Regions from separate parts of the Homo sapiens genome. Here regions 1, 2, 3, 5 and 6 are each linked to region 4. Evidence: promoter capture Hi-C in 16 types of primary human blood cells and fetal thymus (Javierre and others, 2016). All regions are on one chromosome and are shown on one strand. Each heading gives the region's core, a stretch centred on a gene start or on the middle of the fragment in contact. The rest is flanking DNA. Distances are from core to core; before and after follow the strand shown.

What was found. The method cuts DNA at HindIII sites, captures the fragments that hold promoters and counts their contacts. A CHiCAGO score of 5 or more calls a contact.
Region 1: a contact is called between a fragment that was not itself captured here and the fragment with the promoter of HEY2 in region 4, in 2 of 17 cell types (total B cells and naive B cells). The highest score is 8.8, in total B cells.
Region 2: a contact is called between a fragment that was not itself captured here and the fragment with the promoter of HEY2 in region 4, in 1 of 17 cell types (naive B cells). The highest score is 5.6, in naive B cells.
Region 3: a contact is called between a fragment that was not itself captured here and the fragment with the promoter of HEY2 in region 4, in 1 of 17 cell types (total B cells). The highest score is 5.0, in total B cells.
Region 5: a contact is called between a fragment that was not itself captured here and the fragment with the promoter of HEY2 in region 4, in 1 of 17 cell types (total B cells). The highest score is 7.1, in total B cells.
Region 6: a fragment that was not itself captured here is called in contact with the fragment with the promoter of HEY2 in region 4 in 1 of 17 cell types (total B cells); the score reaches 9.4 in total B cells.

What each region holds. Positions count from the first base shown.
Region 1 is chr6:127,513,482-127,516,775 of GRCh38, reverse strand. It overlaps MTCL3 (MTCL family member 3), which reads left to right. Exons shown (of 7, transcript NM_001400265.1): 2 at 74-1,262; 3 at 1,729-1,953. The coding sequence starts at 162. It overlaps SOGA3-KIAA0408 (SOGA3-KIAA0408 readthrough), which reads left to right. Exons shown (of 13, transcript NR_174482.1): 2 at 74-1,262; 3 at 1,729-1,953. It overlaps LOC107986642 (a long non-coding RNA gene), which reads right to left. Exons shown (of 2, transcript XR_001744337.2): 2 at 1,476-2,489. Among named protein-coding and RNA genes, the nearest start is that of MTCL3, 4.2 kb to the left of the region's middle. RefSeq lists a silencer at 528-757 and an enhancer at 1,445-1,969. The HindIII fragment of the contact is 3,876 bases long and covers 1-3,294 here.
Region 2 is chr6:127,299,143-127,302,945 of GRCh38, reverse strand. All of the region lies in intron 5 of ECHDC1 (ethylmalonyl-CoA decarboxylase 1), which reads left to right. Among named protein-coding and RNA genes, the nearest start is that of RNF146, 34 kb to the right of the region's middle. The HindIII fragment of the contact is 1,869 bases long and covers 1,465-3,333 here.
Region 3 is chr6:127,121,109-127,124,609 of GRCh38, reverse strand. All of the region lies in intron 1 of RSPO3 (R-spondin 3), which reads right to left. LOC105377989 (a long non-coding RNA gene) reads left to right here. Exons shown (of 14, transcript XR_002956387.2): 4 at 2,874-3,501. Among named protein-coding and RNA genes, the nearest start is that of RSPO3, 4.2 kb to the right of the region's middle. The HindIII fragment of the contact is 1,841 bases long and covers 832-2,672 here.
Region 4 is chr6:125,747,773-125,751,168 of GRCh38, reverse strand. It overlaps HEY2 (hes related family bHLH transcription factor with YRPW motif 2), which reads right to left and starts at 1,537. Exons shown (of 5, transcript NM_012259.3): 1 at 1,310-1,537. The coding sequence starts at 1,392. HEY2-AS1 (HEY2 antisense RNA 1) reads left to right here and starts at 1,744. Exons shown (of 5, transcript NR_183491.1): 1 at 1,744-2,210. RefSeq lists silencers at 1,319-2,028, 3,203-3,382. The HindIII fragment of the contact is 5,509 bases long and covers 71-3,396 here.
Region 5 is chr6:127,347,645-127,351,043 of GRCh38, reverse strand. No RefSeq gene overlaps it. Among named protein-coding and RNA genes, the nearest start is that of ECHDC1, 5.7 kb to the right of the region's middle. The HindIII fragment of the contact is 1,900 bases long and covers 658-2,557 here.
Region 6 is chr6:127,315,536-127,318,781 of GRCh38, reverse strand. ECHDC1 (ethylmalonyl-CoA decarboxylase 1) reads left to right here. Exons shown (of 6, transcript NM_001002030.2): 4 at 2,280-2,332. It overlaps LOC105377994 (a long non-coding RNA gene), which reads right to left and starts at 1,797. Exons shown (of 4, transcript XR_001744334.2): 1 at 1-1,797. It also overlaps the pseudogene RNA5SP217. The HindIII fragment of the contact is 183 bases long and covers 1,718-1,900 here.

The DNA of each region.
Region 1 (3,294 bases), core at 668-3,167, 1.8 Mb before region 4:
GGAGCAATATCACCCTTTGCTCTGCAAAAATTCAGACATGTTGTCTTCTTCTCTCCTTTTGTTTCTGTCCCAGCTTAGGAAGGAAGGTTGGCGGCGGTGAAGAGGGAAGAGGATGATCTAGTAATGGGCTCTTCCAAATCGCATCTGGTAGGTTCATAGCCATGAGTCAGCCACCAATCGGGGGCGCTGCCCCTGCCACAGCAGCAGCTTCTCCCGCCGCTGCAGCCACTGAGGCTCGTCTGCACCCGGAGGGCAGCAGCAGAAAGCAGCAGCGAGCTCAGTCACCCGCTAGACCGAGGGACAGTTCGCTGCGACAGACAATCGCGGCCACCCGGTCCCCAGTGGGGGCCGGCACTAAACTCAATTCTGTTCGGCAGCAGCAGCTGCAGCAGCAGCAACAGCAGGGTAACAAGACCGGGAGCCGCACGGGGCCGCCCGCCAGCATCCGAGGAGGCGGAGGTGGGGCCGAGAAGGCGACGCCCCTGGCGCCCAAAGGGGCCGCTCCGGGAGCTGTCCAGCCTGTGGCTGGTGCTGAAGCGGCCCCCGCCGCGACCCTGGCCGCTTTGGGCGGCAGGAGGCCCGGACCGCCCGAGGAGCCGCCTCGGGAGCTAGAGTCCGTGCCCTCGAAACTCGGGGAACCCCCTCCGCTCGGAGAAGGGGGAGGAGGGGGCGGGGAAGGAGGAGGAGCCGGCGGCGGCTCCGGGGAAAGGGAGGGGGGCGCTCCGCAGCCGCCGCCGCCCAGGGGCTGGCGAGGGAAAGGCGTACGCGCTCAGCAGAGGGGCGGCAGCGGCGGGGAGGGGGCCTCCCCTTCTCCATCCTCCTCTTCTGCGGGCAAAACCCCAGGAACCGGCAGCAGAAACTCCGGAAGCGGCGTTGCGGGGGGCGGCAGCGGTGGTGGAGGGAGCTACTGGAAAGAAGGATGTCTGCAGTCTGAGCTCATCCAGTTCCATCTCAAGAAGGAGCGGGCGGCAGCGGCGGCGGCCGCGGCTCAGATGCACGCTAAGAACGGCGGCGGCAGCAGTAGCCGCAGCTCCCCGGTGTCTGGCCCCCCTGCCGTTTGCGAGACCCTGGCCGTCGCCTCCGCCTCCCCAATGGCGGCGGCGGCGGAGGGCCCCCAGCAGAGCGCAGAGGGCAGCGCGAGCGGCGGGGGCATGCAGGCGGCAGCGCCCCCTTCGTCGCAGCCGCACCCGCAGCAGCTCCAAGAGCAGGAAGAAATGCAAGAGGAGATGGAGAAGCTGCGAGAGGAAAACGAGACTCTCAAGGTGAGGAGGGTGGGGGGACCCGGCTGGGGGATGGGAAGAGTGGGCCTGGGAGGATTAGGGCGTGTACCGGCAGGGATCAGAGGCTGCTAACCTGTTAGGGAGCCTTGAAGAGGGAGGAGAACAAGAAAGGAGGGAGGGGGTTTCCTAGGCCTTGCCGGAATTTGAATCTGCTCTCAGTAACGCGAGGTTTTCATTTAAATTCAAATCTGGGCCTCCGTTTCTCTAATTATAATGGTTTGTCACACTTCTTCCTGGAGAGAGGTAGAGTAAGAGAACGAGAGAGGGCCTAAAGTGGGCCTTTTTCCCCCAGTTTCCTCTTCTGTACTCAGCTCCTTGTCACTCCTGTCTCGTGGAGAGAGAGGGCAATTAAAGCTGAGAATTTGGAATTGGAATGGGGTGTGTACGGTGTGTGTCGGAAGGGCTGGAAGCGAGTTTGATTTTGACACGCGGCCTGTCACCGCCTCAGAACGAGATCGATGAGCTGAGAACCGAGATGGACGAGATGAGGGACACTTTCTTCGAGGAGGATGCCTGTCAACTGCAGGAAATGCGCCACGAGTTGGAGAGAGCCAACAAAAACTGCCGGATCCTGCAGTACCGCCTCCGCAAAGCCGAGCGCAAAAGGCTCCGCTACGCCCAGACCGGGGAAATCGACGGGGAGCTGTTGCGCAGCCTGGAGCAGGACCTCAAGGTCTGCGGCGCGGGGGCTCAATGGCGCGCGGCAGGGGCGGTGGGTGGGGACTTTGGCCAAGGGCTCTTTAGGCTGAGAAGTCTTCAGTGGCGACTGGCAAGGAGCCTTAGGGACACAGTTTCGTAGCGCTAACCACAAAATACTAGGGTCTCAGAAGGGAGAGAACTGGCAGGTGGCTCTAAAGAGTGCAGAGTGTGTGGAGGGCCTGGCAGCAAACGAGCTAAGTGTGCTCTCCTGGGAGCAAAGGTGGCTCTTCAAGAGGTGATGAGAAGAAGGCTCCCTTCTGGGCAGAAGCAAGGGCGTGGCAGAGCGCAGGCTCTAGCCTTTGATCTGCCCTTCAGTCTGTCTACTGAGAGAAGTCCGGTGGAATCGGGCAGTCAGGAGCTGCACTAAAAGGACTCCTCTGGGGGAGTTGAAACCCAAAATAGGAACTGCACTGGGAAGATACTAGAGTTAAGATTTCTTTCAGCAAGTGTCCACTCCACTTCCTTCTTCCAGGACTTCTTCCTTTCTGCACTTGCCACTTAGGTGACTCCCTGAGGGGGAAAAAAAAAACAGATAACCAACTTGCAGCCTGTTTGGTGTGAGGTAAATGAAATAATCTCATTTTTTTAAAGTGCAATTGTTCCTTCAGAATTTCTTCCAGTGGAAAAATCTCAACCTTGAAGTGCATTTTCTAGACAGGTGTGGTCTCCAGTTCAGTTTGACTGTAGGCAGATTCATTGACTATGCAAACTAGACATTAACTTAATCTCCTTGCACAACCAAATAAGTATACGTTCATTGCATTAACTTCATTGGGATTTAAAGATCACGTGTAATCTTTGTTTTAAAGAAAGCTATGTGTAAACATTTTATGAAAGACGTATTACTTTTTTTCTTAACTTTTGTCGAGTGCTTAGTATGTACTAAGCACTGTGGCAAACACTGTTACATACATTATTATTTCATTTAATTCTCAAGGGAAAAAAAATCCTACAATGTAGGGATTATTAAGGCACCATTTTATAGGTGCAGAAGCTACACCTTTTACAGAGGTTAAGTGCCCAGGCCTGGAAAACAGCTAATAGGTGCCAGGCTGACTCTCCACTCAGTCCAAAATCACAACCTGTGTCCTAAGCCTCTACACCAGTCTGCTCCACTTTTCTTCCAAACCCTAGAATTTCCAGGATAATCTCAAAATATGAGGCAAAAATGCACAGTCATTCAAAAAATAATAATCTCAAGGACTAAAACTTTCCTAAGATTAAGCAACTGGAATTCAAGCTATAAGATTGAAATTCAAGCCCAACCCACTACTTGTAAAAACTTCAATTTTTCATTCTTTAACATAGATTATAA
Region 2 (3,803 bases), core at 1,150-3,649, 1.6 Mb before region 4:
AGTGCCCTCTGCTGTCATCAGTGCAGATTGCATTAGAATGCTGCTATTATTACATTTTATTCTGCGAAGAGGAAGCAGTCATTGGCTTTATGCTTGATATGAGACTAAACAGGAAATGCTGTATGTGTGAAAGTATTAAATGCATTCCTCACTTTACACTGAATACAGGTAGTTATGAAATATATAATTTCAATACATATATAAATATAAAACGTACATCTAAGTATATAATTAAAAGAATTTTAAGGCTGGGCACAGTGGGTCAGGCCTGTAATTCCAGCACTTTGGGAGATCGAGGTGGGTGGATCACCTGAGGTCAGGAGTTCGAGACCAGCCTGGCCAACTTGGTGAAAACCCGTCTCTACTAAAAATACAAAAATTAGCCGGGCATGGTGGCAGGCGCCTGTAATTCCAGCTACTCAGGAGACTGAGGCAGGAGAATCACTTGAACCCGGGAGGCAGAGGTTGCAGTGAGCTGAGATGGCGGCACTGCACTCCAACCTGGGCAACAAGAGCGAGACTCTGTCTCAAAAAGAAAAAAAAAAAGAATCTTAAGCTACATGCAAGTGTGCATTATTACACTGAAAAATCCTCTGTGTAAAAGGAAATGAAAATTAAGACTTTTTAGATGTTATTTGGAACAAGTGAAAACCCTCTAACATAGATTCCGGTGTTCACCTTTATTAGACTTTTGTACTATTCTTCATATTGATTTCTCATCTATGTTTAAGTGTAGTTAGGGTTTAGGACAAAAAAGCACAATAGCAGGAAAAATAATCAGAGATTATTTAATCCTTTAATACTGCTAAATTGCCTAGCTGTCATTCTCTAATTGAAGAAAATGTAATGCATCCTAGAGCTTCATTAAATATTTAATTTTATTTGTTACAAGATGTCTGAGGGTACTGCCTACTCTCAGTATCTGGATATACCAGGTGCTTTTGTTGAGAAGCTTCTGATGAAAACCTATCCATTTTTGAACCAGCTTTTCTGAAAGTGGTGTCTGTTTATTAAACATATTTCAGCACCCACATGTGCTAGGCACAGCCATTCACAAACCTTGTGTCTTGGTTTTTTGTTTCATTTTTCTAGTAATATGTTTTTGTTATATTTTACAAAATTATTGGTCTGCAATCGATTAGAAAGTTTCTTTAAAAATGAAGAAGAAATTGATCCTTGACCAGAGAAATTTGACAAGCACTGTCCTAGGCTACTCAGCCCTTTTAAAACCCGCATACCAAAAGCAACTATAGTTCTTAAATGTTAGAGGCTAATAGAGAGGATTGCATACTGAATGAACTACATTACTAGCCCCAGTTTCCAGGAAGTGATAAATCAGTACAAGTTCCTCTAGCTGATTTTTTCCACTTAATTTTATCAGTACCTCATCAGTTACTTTCTATGACAGATTATTTTAATTATTTCCTAAGAATGTCTGCTTGTTCTAAAAAAACACCGAAAGCTTTCATAGCGTTTGCTAAAAAGATAAGTTCCTTCTTTATATGTGTTGGCCCTTTTCGCTTGTTTAACTTTCTTACCTTGGAGAATTGCCTGGAATTCACTCAACTGACATTTTCATCCATGCCAATGGAAGTACTTCAGCAGATGGAGATACACTTAATATGAATATATAAAAGAAATGAACTCATGTAGCATTCTAACACTGTCCCCTTCCCGCAAAACCCTGTGAGCACCAGCTGGTAATAGATGTAATGTATACGTATGTCGGAAACACTCAGTTCTACTTTGCATAGATAGACCCTCACTTGAGTCATACTTTTCATGTAAAATATTCCAAGAGAAAATGGCTTTTAAAAAACATTTTTAAAAGTAAAAGACTAACATGAATTAAAAATTGGTATTTTTCAATGGTCAGAATCTAGTCAAGCATTATGTTTCCATTTTAGTGACAAAATTAATGTGAGGAAATGAAAAGCTAGAAATGTGGTAATATAGCCTCTCATTTTTTAATCCACCTTGACAAATTAAAGATATTTAGAATGAAATATAAATTAAGAAAATGCTAATACATGTAGTTTTCTATTGCTGCTATAACAAACTACCACAAATTCTGTGGCTTAAAACAACACGTTATTATCTCACAGATGTATAGGTCTGAAGTCTAGCTGGGCTCAGCTGGTTTTTCTAAACCTTGTCTCATGAGACCAAAATCTAAGTGTCAGTTGCAGTGGGCTCTGAAGACTCTAGGGGAGGATTCATTCCCAGGCTCACCCAGGTTCCAACTGGTAGAATTTGGTTACATGCACTTGAAGGACTGAAGTCCCTGTTTCCTTGCTGCCAGATGGGGGATGAGTCTTTGCTCCTAGATGCTTTCTGAATTCTTTCTCATGCTTTCCATGTGGCTCCTCCAGCAGTGGTGAGTCAAGTTCCTCTCATACTTTGAATCTCTCTTATTTATCCTTATGCTGCATTTCTCTGACTACAGCTGGAAACATTTCTCTGCTTTTAAGTGTTCTCATGATTAGATTGGGTCCACTCAGTTAATCCAGGATAATTTTCCTATTTTAAGGATTTAACTTTAGTTACATCTGCAGTCTCTTTTGCCATGTATGGTAACACATGCACAGTTGCCAGAGATTAGGTCATCTCTTCGGGGCCAATCTACCTACCACGTATGGGCTTGGCATAGGGAATTTAATTGTCAGATTTGTTGCTAACTTTTATATTTCTGTTTGATTGCCAGTGAAAAGTGCTAACTTTGTTACTCTAAGTTAATTTTGTAAACTGTATTTTTATTTTTTTAAATGCTTGCTTAGATGCTTTTTAGAAAACAGTAATAGTACCCACATACAGTCATGTATTGCTTAATGATAGGAACACATTATGACAAATGTGTCATTACGTGATTTTGTTGTTGTGCAGACATCATAGTATGTAGCTAAACAAACCTAATGATACCATCTAGGGTGCAGCTTACTACATACCTCGGCTATATGGTATAGCTTATTGCTCCTAGGCTACAAACCTGTAAAGCCTGTTACTGTATTGAATACTATAGGCAGTTGTAACACAATGGTAAGTATTTGTGTATCTAAATGAAAAGGTACAGTAAAAATACTGTATAAAAGATAAAAAATTGAATGCTCATATAGGGTATTTATGGTGAATCGAGCTTGCAGGACTGAAAGTCTCTCTGGGTAAGTGAGTGAGTGAGTGGCAAGTGAATGTGAAGGCCTAGGACATTACTGTACACTTAGAATGTACTCCTTTTACTTTTACACATAAAAAATTAAATGTAAACAGCCTCAGGCAGGTCCTTCAGAAGAAATTCCAGAAGACAGTATTAACTGTAACTTTTGTACTATATAAGCTTTTTAATTTTAAAAAACTTTTTTATTCTTTTGTAATAGCACTTCATGTAAAACACAAACACATTTTACAGCTGAACGAAAGTATTTTCTTTTTTTATATCCTTATTCTATAAGCTTTTTCTATTTTTATTTTATTCATCTTTTTTAAAAGTTTTTTTTTTTTTTTATTAAAAGCTAAGACAAACACACACATTAGCCTAGGCCTACATAGAGTCAGGATCATCCATATCATTGTCCTACCCCTCCACATATATCATTGTCCTACCCCTCCACATCTTACCCCACTGGAACATCTTCAGGGGCAGTAACATGCATGGAGCTGTGATCTCCTATGATAATAATGCTGTCTTCTGGAATTCCTCCTGAAGGACCTGCCTGAGGCTATTTTACATTTAATTTTCTACATATAAAAGTAAAATAACACTCTAAAATAACATAAAAAGTATAGGTCAGCTGTGGTGGCTTATGCCT
Region 3 (3,501 bases), core at 503-3,002, 1.4 Mb before region 4:
GCAATCTACATTTGCCCTTAAAATCAAAGGCCAAGCAAAAAAAAAAACTGTGCAATTTATGATGCAACATTTTTTCAAATTATTATTTTCAAAAAAAAAATGCCAGCACATAATGCACTGTTAGAAGAAATAGTCCTAACCAAGTCAAACATAATTTCAACACACTGTCTTGCATGATCCTTACTGTGCTCTTAAAACTGAATGATGTTTTCCTAATGGTAACCAAAGTTTTTTCTTACATTTCATGAAACACAATATCCACTCTGATGGCATTTCAAGAATTCACTACTTGGAAAATAATTTTTTTGGGGTGGGGATGGGATATGTGAGTGAATAGTGAAGAAGTAGGAAGAGAGAGATCAAGATATGTCCAAAATGAAACATTGGGATGGAGACAAAGGGGAAAAGACAATTTGGCAAATCAGTATATCTAGAATAGTTTTATTTTTTCATAGCTCATTCTTATAATTGCAGAGGTGTATTTTGGTCTTAACTCTACATAGGGCTCTGAAAACTCTACATAGTACTCTGCCAACATTGCATAGGATTCAAAAGAATTATTACAACTAAAAAAAGATTAACCATTGAACTAGAAAATATTTTAGACATTTAGTAGCAATCTGGAGATCTCTGTCCAGATTCAAATAATCTAAAATAATCAGATGTCTAATAAATTCATTTTGGAGCAATGCAGCAAGGGTTTCCCCATAATAACTGGAAAATAAAATTTTACTACACGTTGTAATTTCCATTCATTGCTTTCTGGGGACCTAATTTGTACAATATTAAATGCCAGGGAATTATTTAATGGAGAAATGACTTAGTAAAGCTTATCTATTTGCAAGTTCAAATACTCTTCATATTTCATGTTTAAAGGAATATTGAAATAACAACATTAAATCAGTTTCATACTCATTCTTACATTCTCATTACTTGAGTAACTTGGGGCTAAAAAGAAGGTATTTTAAAATTACCATTTCTAACGTTCTTGTTAAAATCCTTCTATTAAAGTAATAAACGGAATTAAAATAGTGTCACCATGGGATATTTTGAGAAACAACCCTGATAATGTAATGATGATTAAATTTGAGTTCACAAAGATGTTTTTCCTTGCATTTAGATGTTGCCACTACCGCATATGAATTTGCATTTGTCTTGATTTATACAGCTGTTACACGACGTATCAAAGAATACACTTTCTTCAGCAAATTCTATTCGTGTCTGTATCTTTAAAACACTGTTACTCTCAAAAATAAGGCAGACTGGTGAGAAACGTAGACAAGTGTGAAAAATACATTGTAGTCAATATCCAAACCAAACTTTCATTTGAAATTAATATTACAAAATGTATAGTAGAATTAAAGATTTTTCTATTTTATCAGTTAACTTGTTATTTTCCAGGATTCACAACATAATCACAAAGGGTGTGTCATAATTTCAAAGACTGGCTCAACATCTGAAACAATGTCATGAGCAATGACCAGTACATTCCAATAGTCTGTTTTTATTTTATTACCATGAAAATTATTTCCTTTTTATTCTTTCTCTCTTTCTTCAGACGTCTTTATGAAAGACTTGCGAAGTTTTATAGATTGTGCAATGAGTGCTTTTAAATTATTATGCATATAATGGCTTTTCAAAACTTGCATTTATCTAGAGTCTGAACAATTAAAACCGAGCTACTAGATGGCATCAAATAAAAAGGATGCTAAATGCCATCTGATGTTTCTAACAATAACCTTCTGGCACAGAATAATCCCATAGTATCTCCTAGATAATCAAATGATATATTCCGTTTAGAAAACTTTACTATTAGGTATTTAATTCTTTGACATTGATCACCATTATATAAAATAATGAGTTCAAAAATTTCCAGTCAAGGAGAACAGTTTATTCTCTAAACCTATTGAATAAATGATGGCCTTGAGACCATCTAATTTATTACTTAATAAACCTGATATCTTCTCTATGACCAGAATATAGAATAAAGGTGTACATAACTGTGAGATTCATGGCAGGAGACAAGTTCCACTTGCTAGATATATGGCATTATGTAGGTTACTGAGCCTCTAGTTCTCAGGCCTTTTCTTTCTAAGATGGGAAGATAAGTACCTGCTTCTTCACTTCAGTGGCTATTTCAGGGCCCAAGCAACTAATCCACGTGAAAATGTGAGGCCCCACTAAGATTCTGTGGCTATCATTATGGCAAAAAAAAAGTGCTTCTTAATGTTATTAGCACACAATCTGGAATTCAAAGGTTGAGTCATTTTTAAGAGCTGTATACCAATTCAAATAGATAAAAATTTATTGTGTATTTATTCACCCATAACTAAATAGACATTTTAAAGTACAAGGGTCTTGTCTTAAAACATTGTTTCTTTTATGAGAAGAAACACTAGTTTGTAATAACTAGGATCACTAGTTTATATCAAAGTAGAGACAAATGGAATTACAGTTGTTTTAGGGAAACAGGAGAATACTGATATGGCTTTATTTGCTATTTCTGAGGATAATGCATGATTCTTTGGACATGACAATATTTAACACTTCAAATGAATGTTCTTGTTTACAAAAAAGTTTCCTACTAAATCAAGAGAGACCATTAAATTTTTTGTAGAAGTTTTTAACACCTAATTTTCTACCTGTCATATCTTTATTGATGATTTTAAGCTTAGGAAATTGAAACTATATAACTACAGGCCAGAAGACTCCTTAAATATTCACTTAATTGTCTCTTGAAGAAACAATTAGGATAGCCAGCCTCTTTTGAAAACACGTTTGACCACATGTTTTCATTTTAAAAACTTTTCCTAGTCCTTACTTGAGAAACAGGAACTGTGAATTGAATCTTTTTGTTCGTTTTTTTCCCCCAGAGATTTCAAAACAAACGGTATATCTGAGTTTGTGCACATGCAGTTTGACCTTGAGTTTCTGGGCATTTAAAGAGGACCTCTCTACCCTCCACTCCTTCCTCCTTAAGTCATACTGCACCTGCCAAGAGTCTAGTCTGTCTCCTCCGAGGACGCAAGGGGTCGCCCCTCTACCAGGATTGCACCAGCAAACCAAGCCGCAAACGCAGACTCAAGTGCGAAGGAGCAAGAGCATCGCTGTGGGTGCTGTCTCCCAGTCCCACTCCCACAGAAAAATTGGAATTGCAACCCAGTTCCACTATTCCTTCTTTCATCCCCTCAACACAAACAGAGGTCTCCTTTGACTTGGCCTTGAGATGATTAAGGCAGGTCGAAAAGCAGTTTGCCTTTTGACTCCTCTCGGCCCAACCTAGAGGTGCATCATCCCACAGCTCCCTGAGGCAGCGCCCGGGGAAAGCTTCCTGCGCCGTGGTCCTCGCTGGGGGAGGTGGGCACAAAAGGACTACAAGCTTTCTTTCCTGTGTCTTCCTTCAGAATCAGGGGCCCCAAAACTGCAAAGCGAGACGCCTCTGACACTCAGTACCCTGTCCCTCCTTGACAAGTGTGTGGCTCCCAGCCCGGGGGTCCTCGG
Region 4 (3,396 bases), core at 288-2,787:
TTTTATTACTAGGTGAATGTTTTACTTTGAAAATGAAACTGTAGGTGTGTCTCAGACTTTAGGCTAAGCTTAAATCTCCAGAAGCTGCAATGCACCTTGGATTTACTAATGAAAATATATTTTTATATTGAAGGTTCAATCAAAGTATTATTTGGTCACATAATTTTTACAATCCTTTCTAGTTTGTATCTGTTTCTCTTCATAATTCATGGATACTATGCTTCTTTGTGTTCTCAAATTCCCCAGGTTCCTGTTATTTGTTCTCTTTCATTTTAGAAATGCTGCACACACCAGGTTGCTATTACCTCACCTTCTCACTTCTGGATCTTATTTCTGAATTACCTGTCCCCCTCATTTTCACCCCTTCTTTACGGGTTTCACCTTTCACGTGATAGCTTCTGTTTTTCAGACCTCATTTTTAAAGACGGCACAACAACACTTTAATGATCAGATACTTAAACCTTTGCTTTCGTGTAAATATCTTTGCTCTTGCAGATTTTGTGCTTTGCTTTGTATGTATTAGAATAACAATATGAAAGAAAACCAGTTTTCCAAAGGTAGGAAGAATTTCCCTCTTTGAGTGACAGCTGCAGATAAATAATTAAGGTGCTTCTGGGGATGCCAATTAGAAGCAATTATCATTTGACCCGCCTTGGCTCTAAAATGCCTCGGTAATCTCCCTCTGTCACAGGAAAGTGGAGGTCTGGCTTCTGTGATTACGACGCCGATCTCTTCCAGACTTGAGAACAAGCAGTCAAAGAAATGATGCCCTTTCCGATGCTTACATCTGTCACTCACTCTTGCGTTAGCCAAGTCACACACGGTCAACCTGCAAAGTTCAACCTACGTAGCCTTGACATCGCAGGTTGCTTTAATTCCTCCAAAAATCAAGTTGTGATTTTGGTATCTCTAAAAATCAAAAATCAAATTGTTTTTATTTTCTCCTGATCTATTTTGAAAGTGCCCCCAAATACGGTTTCAGTGGCTGGGACATCGCCTGTCGCCCAGACGCTGCCGTTCGCGCGTCCAACTGTGACAGCCAGGACCCTCCCTCGCCAACTCCTGCGCTCTGCCTTTCAGTGGCGTCTCCCATCCTGGCTACTCCACCCCTACGGTGAAAATCCACATCCCTTGCCCCATCCCAACTCACGCTCTGCGAGCGCCCACCACTCAAACTTTCTCAGGCCAAACTTTCCCTCTCTACCTAGATGCTGCGGAGACCAGCCTCGGGATTTCCAGGGAGCCACGCATTCACAAAGCTACCCCAAGCTCCCGAGCTGCGGGCCGCTCCCGCGGAGCCCGCGCTCACCCCGAGTAATTGTTCTCGCTCCCCACGTCGATGGTCTCGTCCATGTCGCTCTCGGAGGTCGTCTCCTCGCAGGGGCGCTTCATCCCGGCGAAGACCGCGCGGGGCACAGCCCGGCCGGAAGCTCGGACGCCGAGCGGGGCGCAGCACCCTGACGCCCGCCTCCTCCCTCCCCGGGCCTGGGCAGGCGCGGCTCCGGCGGCGGCGCGGTCTGCTCCTAGCGGCTCTTTCCCACGCCGCAACTCTGCTCGGCCGCAAGAGCCGGCGCCGGCCACGCCCCCCCCTCGAGCGGGTGGGGCCACCTCACCCGCCCCCGCGCACCGGCCCAGGCCTTCCGCCCGGCACCTCCCCCTCGCTGGTCGGCGTGGCTCGCGATTGGCTGGGCCAGGGGGCGGGGCCGCGCTCGCCAATGCCCGCCGCAAGGCTCCAGCCGAGGCGTGGGAACGCGGCCGCGGACCTGGTACCCCAGAGCAGCGAGCGGGTGGGGAGCAGCCGGGGCGAGAATGAGCGCAATCTTGCTAACCCCTGCGGAGGGAGCGCGCGGGCGCCAACGCGGGCGCGCGGGGGCGGGCCCTGGACCTGGACCTTGGGTTTCGGCCCTCCTCCGCGCCCCGCGGTCTCGCGGGCGAAGTTTCAGTCCTGAGTGTAAAGAATAACCCCAAGCGCGTGGCTAAGTGCGAGCAGGCGCGTGTGACGTCGGGAGGCGCCGCGGCTCCTCGGCCGCCCCACTCGGTGGTCCCCTGTCTGGATCCAAACTGCTGACTGGCTGACCCGAGTGGTCACATTTGCCCTCTGGGGCTTTTGAAAACCTTAAATCAAAATTGCTTTTGAATCTGACAACTCCTGAGGCTACTTTCGCGGCCTCGGGGCTGTTTCATATAAGGACGCGAGTTTTCCTGATCAGGTCTGTCGGCCACGTTACGATTTCCAATTTGCGATCCATCAGTTACTTCCATTGGGTCTTCAGCCCCCAGGGACTGTGGATCCTAGACCCCGCGGAGAAGCCCGTGGACTGGAGCTGTGTCAGCTCTGATGGTAGGAAAGACTAGATCAATGACGCGGGCATTTCAGGACATAATCGTATATTTTCAAGTTCGAGTTTTTCGGGCTTGGATTATCCAGATAATTGCCTCCAGTCTCCTCCAGTCCCCCTGGTGTATGCACTCGCAGCCGCAGAGTTAGAGTCCGGGAGGTGAAGATTGGCGCTTGGAAATTAGATTTGGTTTCTAAAGTATGAATTCGTGTCCAACAGTTCGTGCCTTGGACAACGTGGGTTGTATAAAACTCAAGCTGTGTGTTTAAAACAGGTTTTCTAGCTGCTGGTTCTCTCCAAGTTATGTAGGACTTTTGAACTGGCCACCCCGCTGTGCGTCTGCGAGGGCAGGGACTGAGCGAGACCCAGCCAGGGGCGCCGGGAGACTGGCGGCGGCTGGGTTGGGGTCCAGCCGGAAACCACACGTTGGCAGGGCCGCTTGGTCAGTAGTGGAGAGAGCCTCTGAGAAAGGGCCGTCTATCGATCCCCAGACCCCTCCGTCACGGAGGGATTCATAGCTTCCTGGGGATCGGCCCAGGGCGTCCCTTTGACACTCCGTTCTCTGTCCACACAAGCCCGGCGCGGGGCGGGGAGAAGAGGAAAGGACGCGACTGGGAAAGACGGGACCCTGGCGGGGTTTGGCCCGGGGGAGAGCGGGAAGGAGCCCGGTCGGCGCGGAGGACCTGCGGCCAGCGTGCTAAGCCCTTATTAGAACAGAAACCCCTTTCCCCCCACACTCTCATCTCTTTTGCGCGGTCCCCACCGCCATGCCTTCAATAACCTTGTGAATAGAAACCCGAATCGTTCCATCTTGGCTTCTGAAACTTAACCCCAGGCAAAGCACACACTCGGCGGGGCCAGGTGGGGCTGGATGGGGTCCGCGCCCGACGGCGGGGCCGCGGGGGTCGGTGAACCCCAGCTCCCCTGTCGGCCTCAGGGCGGATGGCTGGGTCGGCGCGGGGTTCGGGGCCTCCGATCGGCTGCACGAGGGCGGGCCAGGACCCAGACCCCGTCCCCGCTCCGGCCCCGCAATCCAGCGGGTGACGAGCCTGACGCG
Region 5 (3,399 bases), core at 358-2,857, 1.6 Mb before region 4:
TAAGCTCGAACAATTTAACTTTTTCTGCATACAAAAGTATACACTTTAACTTCTCCTACATCTTATGCTATTGGTGTCACAATTTACAACTTTTATATATTGTGTTTCCATGAACAAATTATTATAATTACTTTTCTTTTAATTTTACACTAGAGTTAAAAGTGACTTATGCATCACTGTTATAGAATTAGAGTATTCTGAATTTAACTATGTTCTTACTTTTACACTGAGTTTTATACTTTCCTGTGTTTTCATATTGTTTTTTAGGGCCCTTTCAACCTGAAGAACACCCTTTAGCATTTCATGTAAGGCAGGTCTATGGGTAAGAATACCTTTTGTTATGTCTGGGAAACTCCCTATTTGTCCTTCATTTCTGAAGGACAGCCTTGCCAGGTATAGTAGTCCTCATTGGCAGTTTATTTCTTTCAGCACCTTGCAGGCCATTCTCTCTTGGCCTGCGAGGTCTCTGCTGAGAAATCTGTTAATAGCCTTATAGAAGTTGCTCTTCTCTTGCAGCTTTTGCATTTCTTTGTCTTTGACTTTAGAAAATTTAATTTCAGTGTGTCTTGGTGAAGATCTCTTTGTATTTAATCTATTTAGGATTTTTTGGCTTTCATGGGTCTGGATGTTTAGTTCCCTCTTCAGATTTGGAAAGCTTTCTGTCATTATGTTTTTCTGCCCCTTTCCCTTTCTCTGCCCCTTCTGGAGCTTCCATAGTGCATTAATTAGTTCACTTGATGGTGACCCTTAAGTCTTACAGATATTCTTTACTCTTTTTTATTCTTTTTCTTTTCTTTTTTCTCCTCTTACTGGGCAATTTTAAATGACCTATTTTTAGGTTAACGGATACTTTCTTCTGCTTGATTTTGTTGTTGGAGCTCTCTGTGGAATTTTTCAGTTCAGTCATTGTGTTTTTTAGCTTCGGAATTTTCCTAGTTCTTTTTATGGTTTCTATCTCTTTGTCAAATTTCTAATTTTGTCTGTTTACTGTTTTCCTAATATTATTTAGCTGCCTATTTGAGCTCTCTTGTAGGTCACTGAGCTTTTCTTTTCTTCTTTTTTTCTTTTTTTTCTGAGAATCTCACTCTGTTGCCCAGGCTGGAGTGCAGTGGTGCAATCTCAGCTCACTGCAACCTCTGCCTTCCAGGTTCAAGTGATTCTCCTGCCTCAGCCTCCCAGGTAGCTGGGACTACAGGCATGTGCCACCATGCCTGGCTAATTTTTTGTTGTTGTTGTTTGTATTTTTAGTAGAAACAGGGTTTCACTGTGTTAGCCAGGCTGGTGTTGATCTCCTGACCTTGTGATACACCTGCCTCGGCCTCCCAAAGTGCTGGGATTACAGATGTGAGCCACCACGCCCGGCAGTCACTGAGCTTTTCTAAGAATTATTTCAAATTCTTTTTCAGGATATTCATAGATCTTCATTTCTTTAGGGTTGTTTACTGGTGTTTGGTCCTTTGGTAGTATCATGTTTCCCTGATTATTCCTCTTCCTTGCATTATTGAAATGCGGGCACTCATTCCAGTCTTTATAGACTGGATTCAGCAGGGAATGCTGCTCACATCACCCTATCAAGACTTTGGGTAGGTCATCTGTGGGCTTTATGGGTGGCCTTGCTGCTGGTGCCCTCAGATAGACAGGGCTGGTGACCAGATAGGTAGGTGGGTGTGCTAGGCATCTAGGTCCACAGGGTCTGGCTTGGAGCCTGTGTTCACAGGACAGGGGCCTGCCTAGTACTGAGATGGGCCTGGTGCCTGGGTCCATGGGGACAAAAGTGGAACATCAGTCTAGCAGTCTAGTCTGGTGCTGGGGAAGACCTAAAGCCTGATTCTTCAGAGGCCATCATGGAGGCTGGGTTTGTGGGTGGTAGCTTGTAGGCTAGGCCCTCTGGGGTAGTTCTGGTGCCAGGGTCTACTGGGGTAGACCTGGACCTTGGGTTTGTTGGAGCAGGCCTGGAACCTGGGTTCACTGGAACCTGGGGCTGTAGGGACCAGCAGTCAGTGGACCTAAAGCCTATATCCACTGGTGCCAACCTGGAGACTGGGGCTGTAGGGCCCAACCTGGTGTTGGAGCCTGGTGCCTGAAACTATGGGGACTAACATGGGGAATGGAGTGGGCATAGATCTAGGCGCCATGGAGATTAGCCTAGCATTGGGGTGATCTTGTAGTCTCAGTGCATGGGTATCAGCCTAGAGTCTAGGGCCATGGTAGTCAGCCTGGTGCCAAGTTTCACTGTGGCAGGCCTGGTGCTGGAGTCTGCAGCAAAGCTGGCACTTACCTCACTCTCCTTTCCTCACACGGACCATAAGTCTCAGCTCTGTGCTACCCAGGCTTGGGAAAGGATTGACTCTTTCCTACTATCTTCAATGTGTCTTTTCTTAATTCTCTGCTACATCTAGGTGCTATAATTTCTCATCTGGATTCCTCAGTTCATGTGAAGGTGTCTTCATAAAAGGATAGTGGTTCAGGCCGGGCGTGGTGGCTCACGCTTGTAATCCCAGCACTTTGGGAGGCTGAGGCACGTGGATCACCTGAGGCCAGGAGTTCAAGACAAGCTTGGCCAACATGACAAAACCCCGTTTCTACTAAAAGTACAAAAATTGGCCGGCGTGGTAGCGTGTGCCTGTGATTCCAGCTACTCAAGAGGCTGAGGCAGAGTTGCTTGAACCCAGGAGGCGGAGGTTGCAGTGAGCCAAGATTGCGCCATTGCACTCCAGCCTGGGCAACAAGAGCAAGACTCTGTCTCAAAAAAAAAAAAGGATAGTGGTTCAAATAGATGTTTCTGTGAAGGGACAAGTACTGGGAAGTGCTATACTGCCATCTTTCTGACATCACCCTTCTTCCATTCTAGATAGCCTTTTTGAAAGTAATACTATAGTTTCAACATTTTACCATGTTATTAAGTGTTCTCATTCATTTTGAGAAATCTGAAAACCAAGTATATTTAACTAACAAAACAAACACTACATTCCCCCAAGTTACTACTGATAACTATTAACAGCATGAGATATTCATTCTAGTATTTTTTTCTATGGCATTTTTTAAGAAAAAAATTTAACTACATTCTCAAAAGAAATAAAGAGAGGAAAGAACCGAGGAGGAAAAAAAGAAAGGATGGGAAGGAGGAAAAATAAGGCTAACAAGGCATTTGAACTCAATAAGCTTACATTAATAAAAATTATCATGATAGAATATAATGCAACAATAAATGATATACATTGTGGTATAACATTTTGATATTTCTTTCTCATACCTAGAACTATAACCAATTCAGTCTAAAGCACGTGTTGTTTCAGGGGAAAGATAGCTGTGATTGGGTTACAAATGTTTTCATAAAACTCATACCAGGGACAAGTGAAGAAAATCATAATATCTGAGTCTGGTTTATCTTCTTCCCAT
Region 6 (3,246 bases), core at 560-3,059, 1.6 Mb before region 4:
CCATCTAAAATTCATCTAATTTTTTTAAGTTCAACAAACACTATGTGCAAAACATTTTACTAGCGTCTGAGGAGGGGGAAGGCATACTGTCACCATCAAGGGACTTACTGTCTAGACCTAGCAAATGCCACCTTCCCTTCTCCTCTCTAAAGCCTGTCTAACTACCCCCATCCCAATTGAAATGAATAATTTCTTCTTTGACACTCTTCTGAGTTTGTTCAAGCACTTTGTATAATACCTGTACTTTGATAGTTGTATTTCTGTATCTCTGGCAAAATTATTGAGAACTTCTTAGGTTCTCTAGTCCCCATCTTGTAGAGATGATGTGTCTGATAATGCATCTAAACACATATTCATACAACACAATTTATAAGTACTATAATTAAGGCATAAAAATAAAAATACTGTTGAAACACAAAAGAGAAAATTGTTATTGTGAGATTTAGAAAATCTTGATGGAAAAATATTATATGATCTGGGCATTCCTTGAAATAGGTAGAGAGAAGGACAGCCTATTACAACTAGTAGGAATGATAAAAGCAAAGACACAGGAGCCACAATAAGTGTAAGGTGTTAGAGGGATGGCAAATAGTTTGTGTGGTGAAATTAGGATGCTTGGAGGAGGGGTATGGTAATCAATAAAGTTGATAAGATAGTTTGGGATCAAGTGGCCTTGCCAAGAAATTTAGGTTTTATTCTATAAGACATCATCATCCTACAGGAAGGTTTATCAGGTAGCAGGATGGAAGATTATATTTAAGAGGAAAAAGAAATTAAATACAGAAATCAGTTAGGAAGCAAAGCTGTTGTCTCCAGCCATACCACCCTGAATGCACCCAATCTTGCCGATCTCAGAAGTTAATCAGTGTTGGGTCTGATTAGTCCTTGGGTGGGAGAAAGCAAAGCCATCTTACTGTACTAATCAAGGCTTGAGTAACACAGGTATGAACTAATGCAGCAGCAGCAAAAATATAAAAGAAGGGATTGATATTTGAAATATTTCTAAGGTAGATCCGAGGGGAAGTACTTGGTAACTAACTGAGTGTGGGAGAATTGTGAAACGGGAAAGTCAAACATAGTACCAAAAATCTGAGCCTTATTGACCGCTAGCTCAGAACTCTTACACTAACTTTTTCCACTAACACAGAACACTTATGCAATCTTTTATAGAGTTTCTAGGTATATTTTCATCTTTCTAAACATCCTTTAAGTCAAATAGTGCAATTTTTTTTAATTTCTCATTTCTTATGAATGAGGAAACTGAATTACGTAGTCATGACTTGCTCAATTTCATGTTGTTATTAAGTGGCAGCACTAGGATTCAAAGTCAGTTCTTTTACTTTCAGTTGGTTTTGCCGTGCTGAGTTTGAGGTGCTATCAGAATGTGAAAATGTCTAGTAGATTTTAGCACTTTATATGGAAGTAGATGAGACTTCCAAAAAAAAGAAATTATAAATAAAGAACAGAGAAAATCATGGATTAGAATTTTGAAACTGCATGGATTTAGGGGATTAGCTGGATAAGAAGAGCCAAGGAAGAAGACTGGAAAAGAACAAACAAAGAAATAAGAGAACCAGGTGTGTAAATGTTGCTAGAAAGTGAGAGCAAATATGAGAATGAAGAAACTGATTAAAGAAAGATACTACGTGTTATGGAGAGAGAAAAGGTGAATAAGGAAAAGTCATTTAATTTGACAAGTAGGAGATTATTAAAAGCTTTTGAGGAGAGATTTTGGGATAAGGCAGAGGGCCAGATTACACTGGATTGAAGAAAGTATGTGAGCTAAAAAAAAGACAAGGCAATGAGTTTGGACTACTCTTAGGAAATTTGTTTGTGAAAATTATAAGTTGTGGCAATACCAAGATAAAGCCTTAGAAATATTTTTTTAAAAATCAAAGCTTAACATAACTTTTCCCTTCTTTCCCTTCTTCTCTTATATGTTTATCATCTTAAGGATAACAGATGGGTATATCTTATGCCTTTCCCCTGTCATTACCCTGAGTAGAACTCCATAGTGATCTAGGGTATGTGATCTGTCTCTTATCCCTACATCTTTGCTAATACCTCATGCAAAGCTGAGCTCAAGGAGCCCTAGGATATCAACAGTCAAATACAGCATTATTTGCATTTCAGACAACATCAAAGAGTTTTAAATGGAAATGTCATTGTTTAAAAAAGACATATTTTTGGCTTCATTACTTTCTAAAACCTTAATTTAAAAAATTTAATGTAATATATTTGCATTATACCTTTGTGTTTCTGCTTATTTTTATTTAAAGGATGGAATGGCCGTATGCATGTTCATGCAAAACACCTTAACAAGATTTATGAGGTAATGCAGCCTTCTTTTTAAAATATGATTTCTAAAAGACCAAAAATAGCTTTTTGCTATTCCATTATTTGTACTAGTTAAGAAATAATAGCTAATTTTCAAATTACATCTATTCTAATGATGTACTATTTTTTTGTGCCGTAGAGGATAATCATTTAATTACATGTTAATGAAGTATATACATATGTATTTTAAAAATAAGAGAAATGAAAGATAAGAAAAATTTAAGACATATCCCCTAAAGAGCTTATATAACTAGCTGTATTTAGGAATAGATACTGGGAAAGTTAAATACTGGTATTAGAGCAGAATAATAAAGACACTGATCAAGACATGACACATAAAGTTTACCTAATATTCCAAATTAGTAGAATGTGTGGTGAAGTGGTCTGTATCCAGAGGAGATGAGAAAAAGAACTATGGATTGGAAAGTTTTTACAGCTTTCTGAGGAATATGAATTGACTTTGCACCTAGGTAAAGAAGCAAAGAGGAAAAATTCTTCTTGGCCTATCAAGGTATGTTTGAGGTTACAAACTGACATGTTTTGGTTGATTAGCTTTCTACTTTCACATTCCGAATGTAGACAAATTTAAAATTATGAAAAGTAAGGAAATTCTTATTTAAGCAAGGTTATTAATTGGACATTACTGTATTTTTGGTACCTATTGTATCTGAGAGTCTAGAGAGAGTAATAGAATCATAACATTACTATTCTAAAATAGTATCTTCATTGTTTAAACCCTATTCACCTCCTTTTCCTATTGCATTTGACTTTTTCATAGATAAATCTGAAGTTATTATTTTTTTAAATAATCCTTTCTACATGGGAGCAGTGTATATTAGGAAATTTTCAATTACTTTAGACCTGCACCTTTGCATTGTAGGTCAGAACCTACAAAAATTCCATCTTGGA